Regions from separate parts of the Homo sapiens genome. Here all the other regions are linked to region 2. Evidence: promoter capture Hi-C in human tissues and cell types (Jung and others, 2019). All regions are on one chromosome and are shown on one strand. Each heading gives the region's core, a stretch centred on a gene start or on the middle of the fragment in contact. The rest is flanking DNA. Distances are from core to core; before and after follow the strand shown. Region 1 overlaps RGS3 (regulator of G protein signaling 3). Region 2 holds the start of HDHD3 (haloacid dehalogenase like hydrolase domain containing 3). Region 3 overlaps FKBP15 (FKBP prolyl isomerase family member 15).

Region 1 (3,189 bases), core at 405-2,904, 140 kb after region 2:
TCCCTAGCAAAGGCTACCCAGCTTTTTCTTGTACATCTCCTTTCAAAAGCTGTCGAATCCTTCTTTGATGGTTAGAAAGTTTCCCCAGCCCCTAAAGACACCCCATTGTTTATCCCACCTTCCTCTCAGGAGCAGAAGAGATGGCAATTTACCCTGGCTGTGGGGAGTGACTTTGGTGGCAGGAAGAGTAAAGCTATTAGCCAAAGTGAATTTTTAGACCAGCATCAGTTTACCTGAGTTTTCTGGGCCTGTTTTAACCCAAATCCCATGTCCTCTTCTGAGAGACGAGTCTATGATTTCGCCTGGGTTGTAGCTCTGCCTGTGGGGTGCTGACATGGGACCTGTGTCACCCTTCCTGGGAGCTGGCCTGGGATGCTTTTCTCTAATTGGGAGAACTTCATTCATCTACACAACCCCAGAGCTGGTCAGTTCAGTCTCTGAGCTTAAACTACTTGGGTACAGAAGTTGGAGCCCTGGGCTCTGCCCTGGCTACCTGGGGCCATGGGGTGAGGGTAGCAGGCTCTTTGCAGATCAGGCCCCAATGTAGAGCTGCCTTGGCTGAGTCGAGTGGCAGCTTGGGGTAGTGGAAAGATCAGGAAACTTGGAGACAGGAAGTTTGTATCGAGACCCAGGTCTGCTGCTGGCTCACATGTGATTTCTTCCTTCTTCCTCAGTCTTTCCATCTGAGCAGTAGGTATGTGTGTATTTGAGGCAGTAAGGGCAGGGTCAGAGGTTGGTCTGTAAGGACGCTTTAAACCTCAGCCTTCTGGGACACTATGTGTGACTGTGGCTGAAGCAGGAGGTTGGTTTGTTTTTTAAGTAAGCAGACTGGACTGGAACTCATCTATTCCAAATGTACATTATCTTTTTCAAGGGAGTGCCCTGGGGGACTGCATGCTCCCTTCCACCGCTCGCTGTTGCCTACTGTATTTCTGGACCTCCTCTTTTCCGAACCTCCTCTTGGGAACTTTGCAAACTTTGGGAACTTAACAATCTTTGCATATCTTCTGAATTGTCTCAGTGGGAGTAAAACTTCATCTGTTGGGAGGGATTTAAGTTTTAGGGATGAGAAGTCACTTAGAGCTATGTTTGGTGAATGAGAGTGTGGTGGACCTAAGTCTGGCATCCAAGGGTCAGAAATTGAGGTGTGGCCATAAATTCACAGACTCATAAGAAGCCAGTTAGAGATGGCAGCCACCCTGAAACATATACATAAGTCTAAATTCACTCTTCTGTTTGTCCACTTACCCTTGAATCTGCAAACATTGAGCACTTATTGTGTATCCTCATTGTGTATGCATTTTACATACTTGACCCCAATTAGCTCTTGCAGCACCCCCATGAAAGGCACGATTGTCCCCACTCTGTAGTTAAGGCAACTGAGGCTCCAGTGAGATTCACTGGGACCCAAGAGTCTCCAGGCTGGTAAGGAATGGAGCCGGGTCATTTCTGGCTCAGTGATGCTTTCCATGACCCCACACTGCTTCTGGCATGTCTGCATAAAGACAAACTAAGGAACACAAGCTGAAGCCAGAGCCTTGTGACAGTTGCAATTCGTCCAGAAAACCCTGCCTTATAGATCTCTGGAGACTTAGAACCAAGAGACCCCTCTCCCTTAGCCTTGAAGATTGAAGGAAACAATTTGAAGACAAGTAAAATAAATATTAATGTATTCCTTTTTGTTGAAGTATGATGGCAACCAAACATGTAGATCTGGGCATCCTGTCATATTACTCACACCAAAAAAAAAAAAAAAAAAAAATTCAAAGGGATTTGGATAAATTCATGAAATCTCAGCATTGGTTAGGCTTTCAGGAGTCATCCATGCTAATTGCTTCCTTGTAACTTTCCAGTTAAATGGTTTTCTGATTGGTGCTTGAATCTTCTAGGGCAGCCCATTAGAGCAGTGGTTTTTTTTTTTACTGGGAAGGGCTAAATTGTAGAGCATTCTCCCTTACACTCAACAGAAATCTTTATTTGTGGAATGTTCCTCCTTGGTTCTTTGTCCCATCACTTCTCTGGGCATGCTCAAGTTTGCTAACATCTGTGAGCTGATCCAGTCCCGCACCGTGAACTACCCTCATCACAGCCCCTTCCAGAAGTAATAGACTTGATTAATGTGCCCTGAGGTCTATGGCCCTGTGCGAGGTTCTGGGAATACCATGAAGCACAAGACAGACACACCCTCCCTTTACACACTGACTCATGGAGTTTACCATTAACTAAGGCACCAAAGTCTTTTTGGTAAACTCTGCTCTTAGGTCAGATTCCCAAGAAGAAGCTTAGTTAGGGCCACTTGGGAGAAGCCACCCTCCAAGTGGTAAGGACCCCCTTACCAAGTGATCCCTCAACTCTGACCCTTTGGAAAATCAGATGTGTCCTTGGAGCAAGTGTGGGGAAGACACTGGGTGACCCCCGTGGCCTGTGGAAGGCGACAGGTGATTGGGCCATGGAGATGGGCATCACTCTCCCATGGGCTGCCGTGGCCCCTGCTGGTGCTGGTGAGATGGGGGAGTCCACATGCCCTCCCCGGCACGCTTGCCCCTCTGCTCTGCCTCCAGCTGTGTGCCAGCTCTGGCCTTTCCCTGACCCAACCTTTGGGAAATTTTTCATTTATGCCTTAATCACTTCCTGTCTAGACCATATTCTCAGCCCTGGGAATCTGAGCCAGAGTGGTGGCCTGGGCCTTTTCTCACCTTGCTCATGGTTCTTCCCCAGTTGCTGGTGGCTCCTCCTACTTGCCCTACTTCCACCCCTCTCTGGGCCTGGGCTGTTTTTTTTTTTTTTTTTTTTTTAAACTTTCTAGGCTCCTGACAGATTGTCGGCTCCAGCCCTTCCCCTGCCAGCCTCCCTCTGGGTCTGGAGGTGACTACCAGATTTCCCTTGAGTCAGCGACACGTTTTGTGGGACCCTGAGGGTTTGCTTTGTGTTTCTGGCTAGTTTAGAGCCTTCTTTCCATTGCTCGGACTTTGAAGTCTTCTCAGACAACCAATTCCTTGACTCCTTCTGAGCTCTTGAGTCATTTTCTTCACCTCATCTCTTAACATTATTATTATCATTATTATTATTAATTATTATTTTTGCCTCATTTGCTCCACCTCTTTGGTCTCTGGATTCTTTCACATTCAGGAACTGCACAGCTGTAAGCACATTGGTATCTCTCTGTATAGTGATAGCTTTAGGTCAGCT
Region 2 (3,536 bases), core at 1-2,500:
GAGGCTGGTGCAGCTTCTTTCCCCAGACAGAGCTGATCCCAGACAAGGCCGTCCCCTTGAAACCTGAGGGGCCAGAGTTCAAAGTACGGCTAAGTTGATACTTAGGGAAGGGCGTCACTGGTAAATCTGGGGGAGCCTTGGAGGAAGTTTGTCCAGGAAATGAATTAAGGAGACTCATCCAAAGATCCTCTCATTTTGCAGGTGGGTAGACAGAGACCCAGTGAGGGGCAGTAATTTACCCCCAAATCACACAGGGAGTCACATTGGCACAGCTAAGACTAGAGCAGAGGGCTCTGGCTCCTGACCCACGGCTTTTTTTTTTTTTTTTTTTTTTTTTTGAGGCGGAGTTTCGTTCTTGTTGCCCAGGCTGAAGTGCAATGGCGCGATCTCGGCTCACTGCAACCTCCGCCTCCCAGGTTCAAGCGATTCTCCTGCCTCAGCCTCCCAAGTAGCTGGGATTACAGGCATGCGCCACCATCCCCGGCTCCTTTTTTTTTTGTATTTTTAGTAGAGACGGGGTTTCTCCATGTTGGCCAGGCTGGTCTCGAACTCCCGACCTCAGCCTCCCAAAGTGTTAGGATTACAGGCGTGAGCCACTATACCCGGCCGGCTTTTTTTCTTTTTTTTTTTTTTTGAGACAGAGTCTCACTCTGTCACCCAGGTGTACAGTGGTGCGATCTCGGCTCACTGCAACTTCCGCCTCCCGGATTCAAGCGATTCTCCTTCCTTAGCCTCCAGAGTAGCTGGGACTACAGGCGCGCGCCACCACACCTGGCTAATTTTTGTATTTTTAGTGGAGACGGGGTTTCAACTATGTTAGCCAGGCTGGTCTCGAACTCCCGAACTCGTGATCCTCCCCCGCCCCACCCCGCCCCCCGGCCTCCCAAAGTGCTGGGATTACGGTAAAGGCGTGAGCCACCGCGCCCGGCAGGGCTTTTTCGATTTCTAAAACCGCGGGTTTGGGGCTCTGCGCTGCAGGCACGAACTGCTCACCTTTTCTCCCCACCTCCAGGGCTCGGGAAAGGCGAAGTCCAGGAGCCCGGACCTGACGCAGAATGTCTATAGCTGCCGTCGGCAGCGTGAGCTGGGGCGGCGGTCCTAGGGGCCTTGGCCGCGGCCGACCCCTTGGGTCCCCTTCTCAGCTGTAGGGCGTCCACGGCTCCGGGCCGGTTCCTGGGCCCAGGACCCACCTGACTCACAAGGAAGCAGATTGAAAACGCAGCCGCAAGGCCCGCGAGCTCGGGCGGAGGTGCGCAAGCGCCGGGCGGTGGGGCGGGGATCGCGCGGGCCGCCCCTCCCTACCATCCCGACCCGCCTCTGTCCCCGCCCCGTCCCCGCCCTTATCCCCCTCACCTTCGCCCTCTCCCGCCCCATCTCCCGTCGCCCTCGCCGTCCCCTCTCCCTCCTTCGTCTCACTGTGCACCTCTCTGCGCCCCTGTCACCCGCCTTCACTGCGCGCCTCCGTTACCCTGCACCATCTACGCCCCTTATTCCCTCCCCGCACCCTCTGAGGTTCCCCAGCCCGCACCCTTCCGCTCCGCAGCCCCCGTTACCAGCACCTTCTCCGCCCTGTCTGCGCACCCCCTGCCCGCCACACCGCCGCTCCTCACCGCTGTCTCCGCTCCCCATCCCCAACCCCGGCTCCTGGCCTCCTTTGGATCGGGAAACCCCCGAGAAGTACCCAGGTTGAGTGGGAGGAGGGGAGTTGGGACCCAGCCTGGCTTGCTTAGTGTTGTGTGAACCTGGGCAAGGCCCAGCCCCTCTCTGGTCTCAGGGTCCCCAGTTGGTATTGGAGGGAATTGCTTTCAGTTGGAAACTTGTTAAATCCAAGATAACTTGGTGAGGGTAGAGTCCGCTGCAGTAACCTGCTTTTTTATTCTTTCTCTTTTTTTTTTTTTGAGACGGAGTCTCCCTCTGTCGCTCAGGCTGGAGTGCAGTGGCGCGATAGCCCACTGCAACCCCCGCCTCCCAGTTTCTTGCGATTCTCCTGCCTCAGACTCCCCAGTAGCTGGGATTACAGGTGTGTGCCACCACACCCAACTAATTTTTGTATTTTTAGTAGAGACAGGGTTTCGCCGTGTTGGCCTGGCTAGTCTTGAACTCCTGACCTCAGGTGATCCGCCCACCTCAGCCTCCCAAAGTGCTGGGATTACAGGCATGAGCCACCGCACCTGGCCTCTTTTTGTTTTTAAGAACCCTGTGGTACCATCCTGGCTAACACGGTGAAACCCTGTCTCTGCTAAAAATACAAAAAATTAGCCGGGCATGGTGGCAGGTGCCTGTAGTCCCAGCTACTCGGGAGGCTGAGGCAGGAGAATGGCATGAACCCGGGAGGCGGAGCTTACAGTGAGCCAAGATTCTGCCACTGCACAATATTTGCCTGGGCAAAGAGCGAGACTGTGTCCCCAAAAAAAAAAAAAAAAAAAAAGATCCCTGTGGTAAGAGCCTGGAATCCTAACCACTAGACCACCAGGGAGCTTTTTTATTCTTTTGAAGAATAAAAAAAGAGTTTTATCTTTGTTTGCAAAAGTAATGTATGTTGGCTGGGCGCGGTGGCTCACGCCTGTAATGCCAGCACTTTGGGAGGCTGAGGTGGGTGGATCACCTGAGGTCAGGAGTTCAAGACTAGCCTGGCCAACACGGTGAAACCCCGTCTCTACTAAAAATACAAAATTAGGCGAGGTGGTTCATGCCTGTATTCCCAGCTACTTGGGAGGCTGAGGAAGGAGAATCGCTTGAACCGGGGAGGTGGAGGTTGCAGTGAGCCAAGATCAGGCTACTGTATTCCAGCCTGGGTAACAAGAGCAAAACTCCATCTCAAAAAAATAAAAAAATAAAAAAATAATAAATAAATAAGGTATGCATGTAATGCATGTTAGTCTCAAAAAACTAAAAAATACAAACATATGAGAGTTGGCCATGCAGAGGGGAAGGATCTGAGTGATGGTTAAGGGACCCCCTGATGCAAAGGCCTCCAGGCAAGAAAGTTTTTTTTCCGAACCAAAGAGACACTGAGGAACTATAGGAATGTTGCTAGCCAGGGGGTTTGGGCCAAAGAGGCTGGGGAGGTACCGGAGGGGAAGCTTTGAGATACTTCTGTGCCTGTGCTCTGTTCCTCTTTAGTCTCATCACCTTGCACTATGACCTTAGGCAAGACAGGTCATAAGACAGCCCCCACCACCCAGGCCCCTTTGAGAGGGTCTTGCCGCATACCCTGGAGGAAGGAACACTGCACAGAGAGGCCAAGAAGAATCTACACAGATGGGTCTTGGTGGGTTTCTCTATTCAGTCTATTAGCGTTTTGTGCAATCCTGTTTCTACATGTGAAGGGGTGGCCTGCCCCTCCACACCTGTGGGTATTTCTCATCAGGTGGGACGAGAGACTGAGAAAAGAAATAAGACACCGAGACAAAGTATGGAGAAAGAACAGTGGGCCCAGGAGACCGGCGCTCAGCATACGGAGGACCTGCTCTGGCACTGGTCTCTGAGTTCCCTCAGTATTTATTGATTACTATTTTCACTATCTCAGCAAGAAG
Region 3 (3,314 bases), core at 591-3,090, 170 kb before region 2:
CTCACCCTCTTTCTACCATGTGAGGATACAAGAAGAAGATAGTCTGCAACCCAGAAGAGGGTCTCACTAAAACCCGACCGTGCTGGCACCCTGATCTCAGACTTTCAGCCTCGAGAACCGTGAGAAATAAATTTCTGTTGCTTAACCAGACTATGGTAATTTGTTACGGTAGCTTGAACTGACAACATGCATATTATGCAGCCTTCAAAAATGTTTCCAAATAGTTTTTCATGAGGTAGGAAAAGATGAATTATACATTTTTAAATAAAATAAGCATGATAAAGAACTATTAAAGGACTGTATCTACTTATGTATATTATGCATAGAAAAAAGGAAATATGTTAATAGTGGTTACTTTGAGTAGTAAGACTATGAGTGATTTTTTTTAATGCTTTTCTAAATTTTCTACAATGAGTATGTAGTAACTTAACTCTCTTTCTTGCTCTCTCTATCTCTTTCTCTCTCTTTCTTTCTTTTCTTGTACAGATGGGGTTTCACTATGTTGCCCAGGCTGATCTTGAACTCCTAGGCTCAAGTGATCCACCTGCCTCGGCCTCCCAAAATGCTGGGATTACAAGCGTGGCATGAACCACCACACCCAGCCTAAAACATTCTTTGAAAACACTATTTTTTAAAGATAGTTTTATTTATTCCTTAAGATAATTTATGTAGTAGAAAATTTTTTAATATAATAAGATTACATTTAGTCTTTCTCTGTTAAAAAAGAAAAAGGCTAAATTGTCAAGCAGTTTCAGTAAGTATTCCTATTATTTTCCTGAAATCATACAATAGGCCGAAGTGGCAAATTTAGTGGGTTTTTTATGCTAGTCACTAACAAAACACAGCAGATTATGGGTTTTCTATATGTTTCCCTAAAATTAAGGGAAATCCAAACAAGTATTTTGGCTTTTCACAGGGAGAGTAAGATGTTATCACCTGCTTATTGAACTCCACAGCAGCCTTTTCCGACTCAAACATGATGGACCAGTTCTGTCTCTGGTCATCATAAAAGGTGCTATAGTTATTGGGCCGAACCTGGAGAAAGGAGAAATGTTAAATTCATCCACAAGCAGTATTATACCAGATAAACATGACGGCCTAAGCTCATAGAGTAGGGTCTTGACTCAGGTGGACCCAAAGGGAACTATCAGAGATCTTTCTTCTTCCCTCTCACCCTCTACGATTCACCCTTCAGTCCACATTCCTAGAAGGAGCCAAGAGACCTTTCTGAAAGGTTCTGTTAGATACTCACAAGGACACCCAGGGCTGAACCAGTGGATCTAATTTCTATTAGGTACAATCAGACCAGTCTCTCCTGTAAACCTATCCCGAAGGAGCTAATGATTCCAATATGATGAAGTCTTACCATTAGCTCAAAGTTCACATGAATCCTAGCAACCGTAACTGGCTGTTGTTGACTGATATAAAGAAGAATCCTATACTGTAGACAAGCAACGACAGATAGAAAAAAAAAAAGAGAGACAGCAGAAGTTAAAAGGCAATATAAAATCAGCAATATAAAATCAGCAATAAGTATCAAAGGTTGTGCTTCATACTAAACTCAAAATCTATTCATCCTTTAAGGCTTCAACTTTAAATTTTATCTTCTCACTATCCACATTAATCTCTTCTCATTTTGGTCTTACTGTTTAACTGTAATTGGCAATGTCTTCATTTTGTTGGTGTTTTCATTTATACAAGGGGTGACTAAGAGTGGCTGGTTGTGTAAAAGAAAATACAAATTGTTTTTAAATTGATGAAAAACATAAAATACATGTTCATTATACATATATGTGCCCACGTGACCATCAACCAGATTTAAAAAATAGCAGAGCATTTCCCACACCACAGGAAGCTCCCTCATGCCCTTCCTAGTCAATAATCCCCACCCTGAGATAACCAATATTCTGACTTCTGTCGCTGATTAATTTTGCTTTTTTTTTTTTTCTTTTTGAGACAGAGTCTCTCTGTCGCCCAGGCTGGAGTGCAGTGGCGCAATCTCGGCTCACTGCAACCACTGCCTCCCGGGTTCAAGCAATTCTCCTGCCTCAGGCTCCCGAGCAGCTGAGACTACAGGTGCACGCCACCACACCCTACTAATTTTGTATTTTTAGTAGAGACCAGGTTTCACCATGTTGGCCAGGCTGGTCTTGAACTCCTGACCTCAGGTGATCCGCCCACCTTGGCCTCCCAAAGTGCTGAGATTACAGGTGTGAGCCACCGCACCCAGACAATTTTGCTATTCTTAAATTTGTATAAATAGGATTATACAGAGTATACTCTTTTGTCTTGCTTCTTTCACTCACCGTATCTATAAGAGTAAGCCTTGATACTTCATGTTCCAGGACTTTATTCTCTTTTATTGTCATGTAGTATTCTATTATGTGAATATACCATAAACTCTTCATTCATTCTCCTGTTTATGAACATTTGAGTTGTTTCCAGCTAGAGGCTATTATGAATGATACTTCTATGAACATTCTCCACGTCATTTTTTTTTGAGATGACGTTTCACTCTTGTTGCCCAGGCTGGAGTGCAATGGCATGATCTCAGCTTACCGCAACCTCCACCTCCCAGGTTCAAGCAATTCTCCTGCCCCAGCCTCCCAAGTAGCTGGGATTACAGGCATGTGCCATCACACCTGGCTAATTTTTTTGTATTTTTAGTAGACACGGGGTTTCTCCATGTTGGTCAGGCTGGCCTTGAACTCCCGACCTCAGCCTTGGCTTTCCAAAGTGCTGGGATTGCAGGCGTAAGCCACCGCGCCCAGCCTCTCCATGTCTTTTGAAAGACACAGACATTCGTTTCCCTCAACTTAAAGAATGTCCTTTAATGTTCCTTGTAGTGCAAATCTACTACAATGAATTCTCTCACTTTTGTTTGGCTGAAAATTTATTTTGCCTTCATTTTTGAAGGATATTTTTGTTGCTATAGAATTCTGTAATAGGCAGGGTTTTGTTTTCCTTTCAGTACTTTAAAGATATAATTCTACTGTCTTTGGATTCCAATTACATGGACGTTAGACCATGTCCCACATCAATCTTTGCCCTGGTCTCTTTCTATTATTTCTTCTCTCTGTGCTTCAGTCTGAATATTTTCTATGTTACTGCCTTCGAAGTCACTAATTCTGTCTCCTGCTGTATTCTGACTCTGTTAAACCCATCCAATATGTTCTTAGTTTCAGAAATTGTATTTTTCAAATCTAGACTGCCATGTGATTATTCTTATAGATTCTAACTTTTTAAATTCTCCATCTTTTCATCCCTTTTGTACTTTTCCTCTATTTTCTTTAAGATATTATTCCTAGTTGTTT

Evidence for each region. The method cuts DNA at HindIII sites, captures the fragments that hold promoters and counts their contacts. A contact is called where the count stands out against the background at its distance.
Region 1: a contact is called between a fragment that was not itself captured here and the fragment with the promoter of HDHD3 in region 2, in 1 of the 25 tissues and cell types used here (IMR-90 fibroblasts).
Region 3: a fragment that was not itself captured here is called in contact with the fragment with the promoter of HDHD3 in region 2 in 2 of the 25 tissues and cell types used here (mesendoderm cells and pancreas).

The regions. Positions count from the first base shown.
Region 1 is chr9:113,517,770-113,520,958 of GRCh38, forward strand. All of the region lies in intron 14 of RGS3 (regulator of G protein signaling 3), which reads left to right. Among named protein-coding and RNA genes, the nearest start is that of RGS3, 56 kb to the left of the region's middle. RefSeq lists enhancers at 1-5, 407-696, 2,413-2,462, 2,483-2,532. The HindIII fragment of the contact is 5,054 bases long and covers 1-3,189 here.
Region 2 is chr9:113,375,736-113,379,271 of GRCh38, forward strand. HDHD3 (haloacid dehalogenase like hydrolase domain containing 3) reads right to left here and starts at 1,251. Exons shown (of 3, transcript NM_001304509.2): 1 at 994-1,251. RefSeq lists a silencer at 1,103-1,622. The HindIII fragment of the contact is 17,820 bases long and covers 1-3,536 here.
Region 3 is chr9:113,201,595-113,204,908 of GRCh38, forward strand. FKBP15 (FKBP prolyl isomerase family member 15) reads right to left here. Exons shown (of 28, transcript NM_015258.2): 5 at 1,367-1,441; 6 at 937-1,035. Among named protein-coding and RNA genes, the nearest start is that of FKBP15, 18 kb to the right of the region's middle. The HindIII fragment of the contact is 9,656 bases long and covers 1-3,314 here.